2 separate regions of the Homo sapiens genome follow, and region 1 is linked to region 2. The links are contacts of gene promoters, found by promoter capture Hi-C in blood cells and fetal thymus (Javierre and others, 2016). All regions are on one chromosome and are shown on one strand. The core of a region is centred on a gene start or on the middle of the fragment in contact, and the rest is flanking DNA. Distances in the headings are between cores, read along the strand shown.

Region 1 (5,305 bases), core at 1,744-4,243, 530 kb after region 2:
CACTGTTGGTGCGAGTGTAAATTAGTTCAACCATTGTGGAAGACAGTGTGGTGATTCCTTAAGGATCTAGAACTAGAAATACCATTTGAGCCAGCAATCCCATTACTGGGTATATACCCAAAGAATTATAAATCATTCTACTATAAAGACACATGCACACATATGTTTATTGCGACACTGTTCACAATAGCAAGGACTTGGAACCAGCCCAAATGCCCATCAGTGACAGACTGGATAAAGAAAATGTGGCACATATACACCATGGAATACTATGCAACCATAAAAAAGGATGAATTCATGTCCTCTGCAGGAACACGGATGAAGCTGGAAACCATCATTCTCAGCAAACTAACACAAGAACAGAAAACCAAACGCTTCATGTTCTCACTCATAAATGGGAGTTGAACAATGAGAATACATGGACACATGGAGGGGAAAACCCCTGCCAGGGGCCTGTCACGGGGTGGGGGACTAAGGGAGAGATAGCATTAGGAGAAATACCTAATGTAGATGACAGGGTGATGGGTGCAGCAAACCACCATGGCACATGTATACTTATGTAACAAACCTGCATGTTCTGCACATGTACCCCAGAACTTCAATTAAAAAAAAAAAAAGTTCAATGCCCATTAAAAACCAACCAAACAAAAAAATGCAAAGCCATTTACCCCATAATGTACCTGAAAAAATGCATGCCAAGCTTCACCTTGAACAGGATGCCACGGGCCCATTTTCTCCAGCTGTGACCCATGGGATGGCTCTCTCTGGTCTCAACAATGCATTTGAGAGAGGGACCCATTACAAGGGTTGCTCTGGGCCAGGCGTTCCTATGCAGGAATTAGAGAGCAGCTGACTAGCTTCTAGAAAGGAAAGTGTCATGGTTATCCTCCCATTTAAAATTTTCATAATAAACTTATTTGTATTCAAGAAGCTTAGGAATAGGTTTAGTGTTCACTGAGGCCAAGTTCTAGTTTTTTCCATTTGAGAAAATGGTAAAAAGGTCTTGCCCAAGCCATAATGGCAGTAATTTACATGCTATTCATAACAGCTCAAAAAGAAATTAGTCAAAGCAAGCTTTCACTGATTTCTTAAGTACAGAATACACAAATAAATACACATGGGATACCTTAAGAAAAACCAATCGCTTTATTTTTCCTCAATATATGTTTAGAAAACTGGTCTGAGAAGAGGTTTCATGAGATAGACCAGAGGACTATGTACAAAATCAAGAGTTCTAAACCAATAAGAAAAAGGGCACAATGAAGCACACATCCCCAGGGGCCACGGCAGCCTAGGACCTTCCTATCAGTGGGGAGGCAAGGTCTTTGACGGCTTTTGAGTTCAGCTGAGGGATCATGCTGATCTTCAGGAGTTTGCTGCTTGCATACTTATTCTTGATGGCCTGCAGAAGTCATTTGTGATTAAGCACATGTCAGGAACCCCCAATGATACCTTATTCCTAGTCTAACTCACAATTATCAAAGGTCCACGGCTACAATCATGATCACATTGATGATGCCCAATCGCTGAAGCCAGTGAAAGCTCTGGGCTCATAACATGTGCCTGACCATTTCCTTCCATCCCCATTAATGAATAAAACACAGCTGGTAGCACAGGTGATAGGAACAAATGATTTCAAGGTCCAAGTAGCAGGCTTCCTCTTGTAGGCTACCAGAGGGATGGGAGGGGGAGCTGTGTTTACGACACCTAAGTGCCATCAGGACATAACAGGTTCACCAGGCCTGGCAGCAATAGGAACAATTAAAAGACAATAAAAGACAATAAAAGAGGGTGGCAACTAGTGCTTAACAAATCCCAGACAGTCCTCTCAGGACTGAACACATATTACACTTCCATGAAGCAAATCATGTTGTGAGGACACTTGAGACTCTTCTGAGGTTCAAATACCTTGCTCTTTGCCACCACACACTTGGTGAGCTCTGATGTTTGGTGTCACACAAGCACAGGACAGCACTAAGTCTCCTTTGGCTCCTCCTCATAGGTGGGCCATGCAGAGATAGACACCATGCCCTCAGGATGCCCCCTGAATGGGCCTCTTCCCTCTTAACCATGCTTGCTAATTAGGCGTTTTTCCATCATTGCCTCAAAAGACCCTGGACAAAGGCTCTGAGTAACATCACCTGAATACGCAATATAATACACCGCCATTTGAAGTGGGCCCTCTCTCTTCCCAATCACATGCAGACCAGCCTTCCCTGCTTGCAAAGTGCCCTCCCCAGGATGCTAGTATAAGCACAGAGTAATTCAATACATTGAGTAACCGACTGGTTGACTGGGATCTGGGCCTGGACATGGCTAGCCTATCGACCTTGTTTCAAATAAAGCTTGCTTTCAGGGTTTATCAGTATGCTCCATACCATACTGTACCAGAAAAATATAAAGGATAAAGGATTTGTGCTAAAACTCCCACATGTTATTAATATATTTACATGACGGCACACACCGCCCCCCCCCGCCCAACATACACACAAAACCCAGAACCTAAAGCTTTCCACAGCTTAAGAAAACAGTAGTACTTACGATGAATTTAGTTAAGTTTTCATTTACTTTCACCACATTCTTGGCCATGTGCTGCATGACTTCCAATACTTCATTCTCTGTGTATCCTGTGTAATACTGCTGCTTTAAGTTCTGAAACACAAGAAGCAGACAGACAGACATGACTGAGGGGCAAGAGAAAACCTCTGCTTCTTTAGAAGAACACATCTTGTACATGATGACATTACTTATGTAAAAGCTGTACAAGAATATTCTTACCTTCTGGAAATTCAATCAAAGCCCTAACCACTCTCACAGTACCAGCAACACTAAAGCAGCTGGTAAATGCAAGATGATTCTGGCCCTGAGACCAGACTAAATCAAGTGCCAAAGGTCCCATACGATCTTTCAAAGACGTTGCACAGGTAAGAGTCCTTCAAGTAACAACACTGAAAGGGGATGGAAAAGGAGACACTTAAAACAAAGTGCCCCTTTACAGTGCTGGCCACATCTCACACAACCCTGCATCAAAGCCCTGCCCAGCTGTCCCTGTTATGAGCTCAAGAGCCCAAACAGACATACTGTCAGTCAGGGAAAGATGTTCGGAAATAAGAAATAAACTGTGCTACAAGCAACAATCTATCAAATCCAGAAGAACTAGGACTACCTATGATTCTCTTGTTGAACCCTGTGTAGTTAAGCACCAAACAGCAGAGAGAACTTAGACACTACCACACCAAGCCTTGTGACCTAGCCTCCCAAAGAGTAAAATTCAAGTAAAAGAACAGCTGTCAATTGATAATAAGATGTATCATGTAAGAAGATATATAAATTGGCGGGGCACAGTGGCTCACGCCTATAATCCCAGCACTTTCGGAGGCCAAGGCAAGAAGATCGCTTGAGCTTAAGAGTTTCAGACCAGCTTGGGTAACATTGGGAGACCCTATCTCTATGAAAAATGAAAAATTAGCCAAGCTTGGTGGTGTACACCTATAGTCCCAGTTACTTGAGGAGCTGAGGAGGAAGGATTGCTTGAGCCCAGAAGTTTGAGGTAATGAGCGATATTAACGCCATTGCACTCCAGCCTGGGCAACACAGTGAGACCCTGTCTCAAAAAAAAAAGAAAAAAAAAGAAAAAAAAAAAAGGCCAGGCGCAGTGGCTCACGCCTGTAATCCCAACACTTTGGGAGGCCGAGGTGGGCGGATCACCTGAGGTCAGGAGTTCGAGACCAGCCTGACCAACATGGTGAAACCCCATCTCTACTAAAAATACATAAATTCCCCGGGCATGGTGGTGTGCGCCTGAGGCAGGAGAATCGCTGGAACCCGGGAGGCAGAGGCTGCAGTGAGCTGAGATCGCACCACTGCACTCCAGTCTGGGTGACAGAGAAAGACTCTGTCTCAAAAAAAAAAAAAAAAAAAAAAAAAGATATGTCAACTGACTTTATTTAAGAGTTCTGTGACAAAAATTCTAAAAGCGAAAGTACGTTTTTTTCATATGCATGGTATAATTGGCAAAATAAACCACAATTTAATCTCTTTTTTTCTTTGAAGACCGGGTCTCAACTCTGTTGCCCAGGCTGGAGTGCAGTGGCACTATCAAAGCTCACTGCAGCCGTGACATCCTGGGCTCAAGTGATCCTCCCACCTCAACCTCCCTAGTAGCTGAAACTATAGGTGTATGCCACCATGCCTGGGTAATTTCTCCTTTTTTTTTTTTTTTTTTTTTTTTTTTTTTGAGACAGAGTCTCATTCTGTCGCCCAGGCTGGAGTGCAGTGGTGCAATGTCTGCTCACTGCAACGTCTACCTTCCGGGTTTAGGCAATTCTCGTGTCTCAGCCTCCTGGGTAGCTGAGACTACAGGCATGTGCCACCACGCCCAGCTAATTTTTGTATTTTTAATAGAGACAGAGTTTTACCATGTTGGCTAGGCTGGTCTCAAACTCCTGGCCTCAAGTGATCCACCCGCCTCAGCCTCCCAAAGTGCTGGGACTACAGGCATGAGCCACTGCGCCCAGCCAGTTTCTCTGTTTTTTTGTGGAGGCGAGGTTTCGCCATGTTGCCCAGCTGGTCTCAAACTGCTGGGCTCAAGCAATCTGTCTGCCTCAGCCTCCAAAACTGCTGAAACTACAGGTGTGAGCCACTGTGCCCAGTCTACACAATTTAATCCTAAAATACTTTGAAGGGAAGAAAGAGGAAACGAGTAAAAACTGAAATAATGCACAATTTCTAGCCTTTTGAAATAAATTCTCAGAAAACTGGGAGAGCGAAGCACATTTAAGAGTAAGGTGACTAAAAATGAGCCATTGGTACCATGTACCAGTGACATTTTTGCCTCAAATGTTTTATTTATTTCAAAAAATTCCAAATCTACAGAAAAACTGAAAGAATGATCCTCTATATATCCTTCATGTAGACTGATCAATCATGAACATGTGCCACGTTTCCCTCCTCTCCCTCTCTGTGTATACTCACACACAATTTTTGCTATGCCATTTGAAAGCGATTTGCAGATATCACAGCACATCCCTGCTAAATGTTTCAGAAGCATATTCTAAAAAGTACGTTTTCGTACCTATCCATAACACCATTCTCACATAAGAAACACTGTCACCAGTGACTTTTTTTTTTTAAGCATCGAGGCAGTTCCTTTTAAAATGTCTCACATTCTGGATTTGCATATTTCCTCAAGATTTAATTCATGTCAAACATTTTGGGCATGAATAGGTGATAATGTATACATCTTACTGCACAACACGGCATGGCAACTCAGGTCGTCTGCCAGTGGTAATGCTGAGCTTAATCA
Region 2 (5,467 bases), core at 1,691-4,190:
GGTAGAGATGTTACGGTAGGTTCATCCTTCCTTTTTCCATGTTATATGTGGAGAAGTGTTAAACTTGCTCAAGCAAATGGGAGTAGGAGATAGGCTGAAAATAGAGATTGCTACACCATTCTATTTTGTTTTCATGCCTGTTTTTTCTCCAATCCTATATGGACATTTGAGAAATGGACCACAAATCTGAGAGGGATAGAGTAAAAAGAGGCATTAATGTATGTACTCACAAGTTAGACCTATTTTGCTGTTAAAATAGGTCTGGTCTTGTTATAGGTCATAGGAATTGTGTAGTTTGAGTTGCTGCGAGAAAGAGTCAAGAACTTAGACTTGAATGGGAAGGCCAACTGGTGAGGGAAGTGGGGTATTATCTACTCAAATGTTCTAAGCTAATACAAAAGAATTACCTGGCAAGCATCCCCCTCTGCCCTTCTTGAAATTCTGAATGAACTTAGAATCAGATCAATGGTGAGACCCAGTTATGTAACTTTCCTTTGAAGTTCTAAAGGATAATTGAAAATAAAGTAGTCTGGCATGTTTAACAGTAAGGAGTGACACTAAAATTTGAATATAACAGTATGTTGCAACTATTTATAATAGACCTATTTATGTTTTGAGAACTAAGTAAAATGCTATGAAAAATTCACATAAAGCACGTAAGCACCAAATGAAAATCATTTCGTGCTTTCAAATTAATGATACTAGGCTTGTAGGATGTCTTAGAATCATGTTTAACAAGAAGTTAAAATATTTGCATTTTGAAATTTTTATGCAGTTTGGCTAAGGAGGAACTTGGAAAATAACATTCATCAGCTTCTACACTGCACTTTTTGTATGTGGACTTTGTAAAGTTTAATGTCCGTTTAACAGTTGCTTGTTTATTTGTGTAAACCTAGCTAGTAAATATTGATGATGTTCAGGGCCACTGACTTGCACAGCCCTTGGAGCACTATTCACACAGAACACAATTCAGAGTTTGTTAAGACATTAACACACTTTGATATCTATTCCAAAAATACTTTTGTTACCACAGGTTCATTGCTGTCATTTAGACAAAATTAATGTACTGTGATATTTTCCTACTCTTAAGATGATGTTGCCCAGCCGAGTACTGTCAGAAATTCAGTTCTGATGTCTGTGTGTGCAAGATATTAATGTGGTCCCTGTAAGAAATACCAGAGTTGGTCATGATTTACTAAGGAGATGTAATATTTTCTTTGACCTGTTAGGAATATAACTTGTGTCTTGATTTGTTGCACATCATATTTTTTGCAACATTAATGAATTTAAATAAATTAATTGGAACGTTCGTCTTTGTCTTTTTATCACATTTTTCTTTCATTATGCTACTAAATTTTTGCTTTGAATTATCCTATAAACCTCTTAAATAATTTCAGACCTTTACACTTGTTTCCCTTTCTATAGTCTAAGTGCTTCTATTCTTTGGGGATTAGAGAGTTCAGCCTGCTTTATTTTAACATCAAAACAATAATGAAACTTTGTGTTTCATAGTTGAGATTTTTTTTTAATTAATGGGGAATCCAAGGATGAAACCATGAGTGGCTTAAAATGAAAACATGGCTTTTTTTTTTTTTTTTTTTTTTTGAGACAGTTTCGCTCTTGTTGCCCAGGCTGGAGTGCAATGGCGCCATCTTGGCTCACCGCAACCTCCGCCTCCCAGGTTCAAGCAATTCTCCTGCCTCCGCCTCCCGAGTAGCTGGGATTACAGGCATGCACCAACACGCCCAGCGAAATTTTTTTTGTATTTTAGTAGAGACGGGGTTTCTCCACGTTGAGGCTGGTCTCGAATTCCTGACCTCAGGTGATTCGCTCACCTCGGCCTCCCAAAGTGCTGGGATTACAGGCATGAGCCACCGCCCCTGGCCGAAAACATGGCTTAAATAAGAAGAACTTGTTTAGTTCATAGACCTGCTCAGAGGTTCCAGCTGATACCACTTGGTGTTTTTTGTGGTTTTGTTGTTGTTGTTTTGCACATACTCTTTAATCACTATTCAGCTATTTTGTAGGATAAACTGCTCTACACATGACTGCTGGGTTTAAGCCAGTTAGTGTACCATGCACCCTGACACCTAAAACAATTTGTGATTTTGCAAACTTGAAATTTATAGTGAAGTATTTATCTTGCATATTAGATGCAAATTTTAAATATAACTTCTCCCAAATTAAAGTTCTTCATGAACTGGTCACAAACTAAAAACTTTGCCTGCAGCCCTGTTTCGAGGGGTAAAGAAGATACCCTGCTTACCCTGCTATAATTTTTTTTTTTTTTTTTTTTTTTGAGACGGAGTTTCGCTCTTGTTTCCCAGGCTGGAGTGCAATGGCGCGATCTCAGCTGACTGCAACCTCCGCCTCCCAGGTACAAGCCATTCTCCTGTCTCAGCCTCCCAAGTAGCTCGAATTACAGGCATGCGCCACCACGCCTGCCTAATTTTTTGTATTTAGTAGAGACAGGATTTCACCATATTATGCTGGTCGCGAACTCCTGACCTCCGGTGATCGACCCGCCTCAGCCTCCCAAAGTGCTGGGATTAAGGCGTGCGCCACCGCGCCCGGCCCCTGCTATAATCTTTTCAGAATTCGTCTGCAAGGTCTTCAACACTGTTACCCTGAACACACTTCCGGCATGAAATATGAATGCCCTACATTTCTTAAATTGTGCATCTAACAATGGAGAAGATTAGTCTCTAAAAATTATAATTCCCTTAGGAACGATTTAGTAAACCTGGTGAATTACTCGAGCAGAGCGCCTGTCCACCACTTTAAGGCTTCAAGCTCCAGCCCGACGCCCCTCCTTCCCTCTCCACGCCCTTCCCTGACAAGGCTTGAGTGGCGGGCGAGAGCAGGGCTGGGCGGGGCCTCCCGTCCCTCGGGCGGGGTGTCACTTCCAGGTTCCGCGAGCACTTCCGGGTCGTCAGCTCAGTTCTGCGGTTTCTGCGGCGGCTGGAGAGGTGGTCGGAGAAGTAGGAACCTCCTGCCGGGCTCGTGGCGGCTTCTGTCCGCTCCGCGGAGGGAAGCGCCTTCCCCACAGGTAGTGGGTTAGGGAGGGCAGGGTTAGGGAGGGAAGCAGGGCCGCGCTCCCTGCCGCCCCCCCGGAGTCGGAGTGCGTTGGTGGGGTAGTCTCTGAGGGCCCTTCGCTCCTGGGATCTGCCCGTTACCGACCGTTGCCGGCAAGGCCCCGCGGCCGGCACCGGAGAAGGGCGGCGAGGCGGCGGTGATGGTCGCGTCCCGTGGCGGGAGGCTCGTCGTTCACGGGGCGCCCACAGAACCCACCTAGGGGAGGTCTTCAGCCCACCACCGTATTTTCAGCCAGGTGAATGTCTTAAAGCATCCACTAGCGCCCTGTGAGTTTTGCCGAATTTCGGAGAGCATTTTTTAAATGTCTCATTCCTGTGCTTTGTAGCTTGTTGTTTGAAGTCTGCCTTCCAACTTTCTTCGTGCGAACTCCGACAAAAGGAACGAATTTTAAACTTGGTGGTTTAATCAAAAAATGCTAGGACGAGTTACTTCCGAATTTGACTTCTAATTTTCTGAACTGCAAAACAAGAAGGGAACAATAAATTTCTGTGGCTGATACCACATCTAAAAGATTAGAACACTTAACAAGGAATTTTTAAAGAATGTAAGAACATTGAAATCAGCACTTTTAACAAACGTTTAACGCAGGGCTATTTTCTAGATAAACTCAAAAATTTGTCAAATGGGACACGATGCACGATTCTGTATTCCTACTCTGTGGAGTTTTTATCTACCTATTGGGACTTCTTGCCCTTTTTAACCCCCTCTCCCCTCCCACACGCATATTATACTTACTGATATTTGCCTTCGTTTACTGAACAGATTTTTTTTTGGCTCCTATTGTGTGCCAGGTACTGTTCTAGACGCCTATTTTACTTAAGTGAACAAAATAAAAAGCTTTGCCCTCATGGAGCTTACATTCTATTAGAGGATGCAGAAAATAAAATATATAATGGTGTTAGAAAGTGATGGTGCCATCAAAAAAAAAAAGAGAAATATAAAGGAGTACGGGAAAGTTCCAGAGTGGAGGTGGGAACTGGTATTTTAAAGATGACGGTGGTCAGTTTGAGCCTCATTTAGTAGGTGTTATTTGAGCAAAGACTTGAAGGAATTAAGAAAATTTGCTAAGTAAATATCAGGAAGAGCATTCAGGCAGATAGGAAAGCCAATACAAATGCTTTTAGGCCTGTCATGTTTGAGGAATAGCAAGGAAGCCAGTGTATCTGGAGAGGGATGAGCAAGAGTTTTGGGGGTGGAGGGACAAGAAGATAAAGTCAAAGAGATCATGGTAGCCGGATCATTGTAAAGGCTGATAGAAGCCATGGGAGATTTTGAATAGAGGAGAGGTATGTTGTAACTGAAGTTTTAGAAGATCACCCTGGCTGTGAGTTGTGATTAGAGTGTAGGGGTGAGTGTAGAAGCAGGGAAATCATTTAGGAGATTTTTGCAGTAATCCAGATGACGAGAGTGGCCCAGGTCAGGGTGATAACCGTAGGGATGGTGAGAAGTGGTTGGATTCTGAATGCATTTTGAAGGTAGGCCTTACAGTATTTGCTAGGAATTGGATATGGAGAGTGAGATAGAGGGAGTGGAGGATGAAATCAAAGGTTTTGCCCAAGCTCGTAGAAGTATGGAGTTCTTTAAGCCACGATGCAAAAGATAACAAATAGAGATGTTGAGTAGGCAGCTAGATTCAGGAGTGAGAAGTTCTATGCTATATGAATTTGGGGATCATCAGCAGTGGTACTTAAACCATGAGAATAAATGTTATCCGTAAGGAATGGGTGTAGACGGAAAGCAGCAGAGGCCTAAGGACTGTGTCCTGTGATATTAAGAGTTTAGCGAAAACGGGATCAACCAGCAAACAGTATTAAGAAGGATGAACTTGTGAGTTAGGACAATCCGAAAAGGGCAGTGTCCCAGAAGCCAAGGTAAGATCCTGTACGAAAGAGGAGGGAGTAATCAGCTGTGTCCAATATTCTGAGTGAGGCTAGAGAATTAGCTTTAGCATTGCCATTGATGACCTTCACCAACCTGTTTCCTTAGAGTGCTAGAGGCAAAAATTAGCTTAAGAGAAAATAGGAAAAAAGGAATTGGGAGACAGTGAATACAGACAAAACTAAGGGATTTTGCTGCAAAGGGGAACTGAGAAATAGGATGTAGCTGGCAGGGGATTTGGGTTGAGGGGTTTTTGTTTTGTTTTACTTTTTAAGGTGGGAGAAGTAGCCACCTATGTGTTTGCTAATGGAAATGATCCGCAGAGAGGGAAAATTTGATGGTGAGGGAGAGAAGTAACAACTGAATTGTCAGAACAATATCCTTGAGTGAATTAGAAGACAATGCCTGATACAAAGGTAGAAGGATTGGATTTAGATAAAAATAGGTATAGAGTTCAACTATAGTGACAGGGAGGGAGAGTATATGGGTACAG

Evidence for each region. Contacts are between HindIII fragments. The CHiCAGO score rates a contact against its expected background, and 5 or more counts as called.
Region 1: a fragment that was not itself captured here is called in contact with the fragment with the promoter of GTF2A2 in region 2 in 1 of 17 cell types (erythroblasts); the score reaches 5.4 in erythroblasts.

Annotation. Positions count from the first base shown.
Region 1 is chr15:59,120,864-59,126,168 of GRCh38, reverse strand. CCNB2 (cyclin B2) reads right to left here. Exons shown (of 9, transcript NM_004701.4): 8 at 2,542-2,652; 9 at 1,124-1,402. The coding sequence ends at 1,292. Among named protein-coding and RNA genes, the nearest start is that of CCNB2, 18 kb to the right of the region's middle. The HindIII fragment of the contact is 966 bases long and covers 2,511-3,476 here.
Region 2 is chr15:59,654,988-59,660,454 of GRCh38, reverse strand. It overlaps GTF2A2 (general transcription factor IIA subunit 2), which reads left to right and starts at 2,940. Exons shown (of 5, transcript NM_004492.3): 1 at 2,940-3,049. It overlaps BNIP2 (BCL2 interacting protein 2), which reads left to right. Exons shown (of 10, transcript NM_004330.4): 10 at 1-1,309. RefSeq lists an enhancer at 2,904-3,133. The HindIII fragment of the contact is 4,994 bases long and covers 1-3,935 here.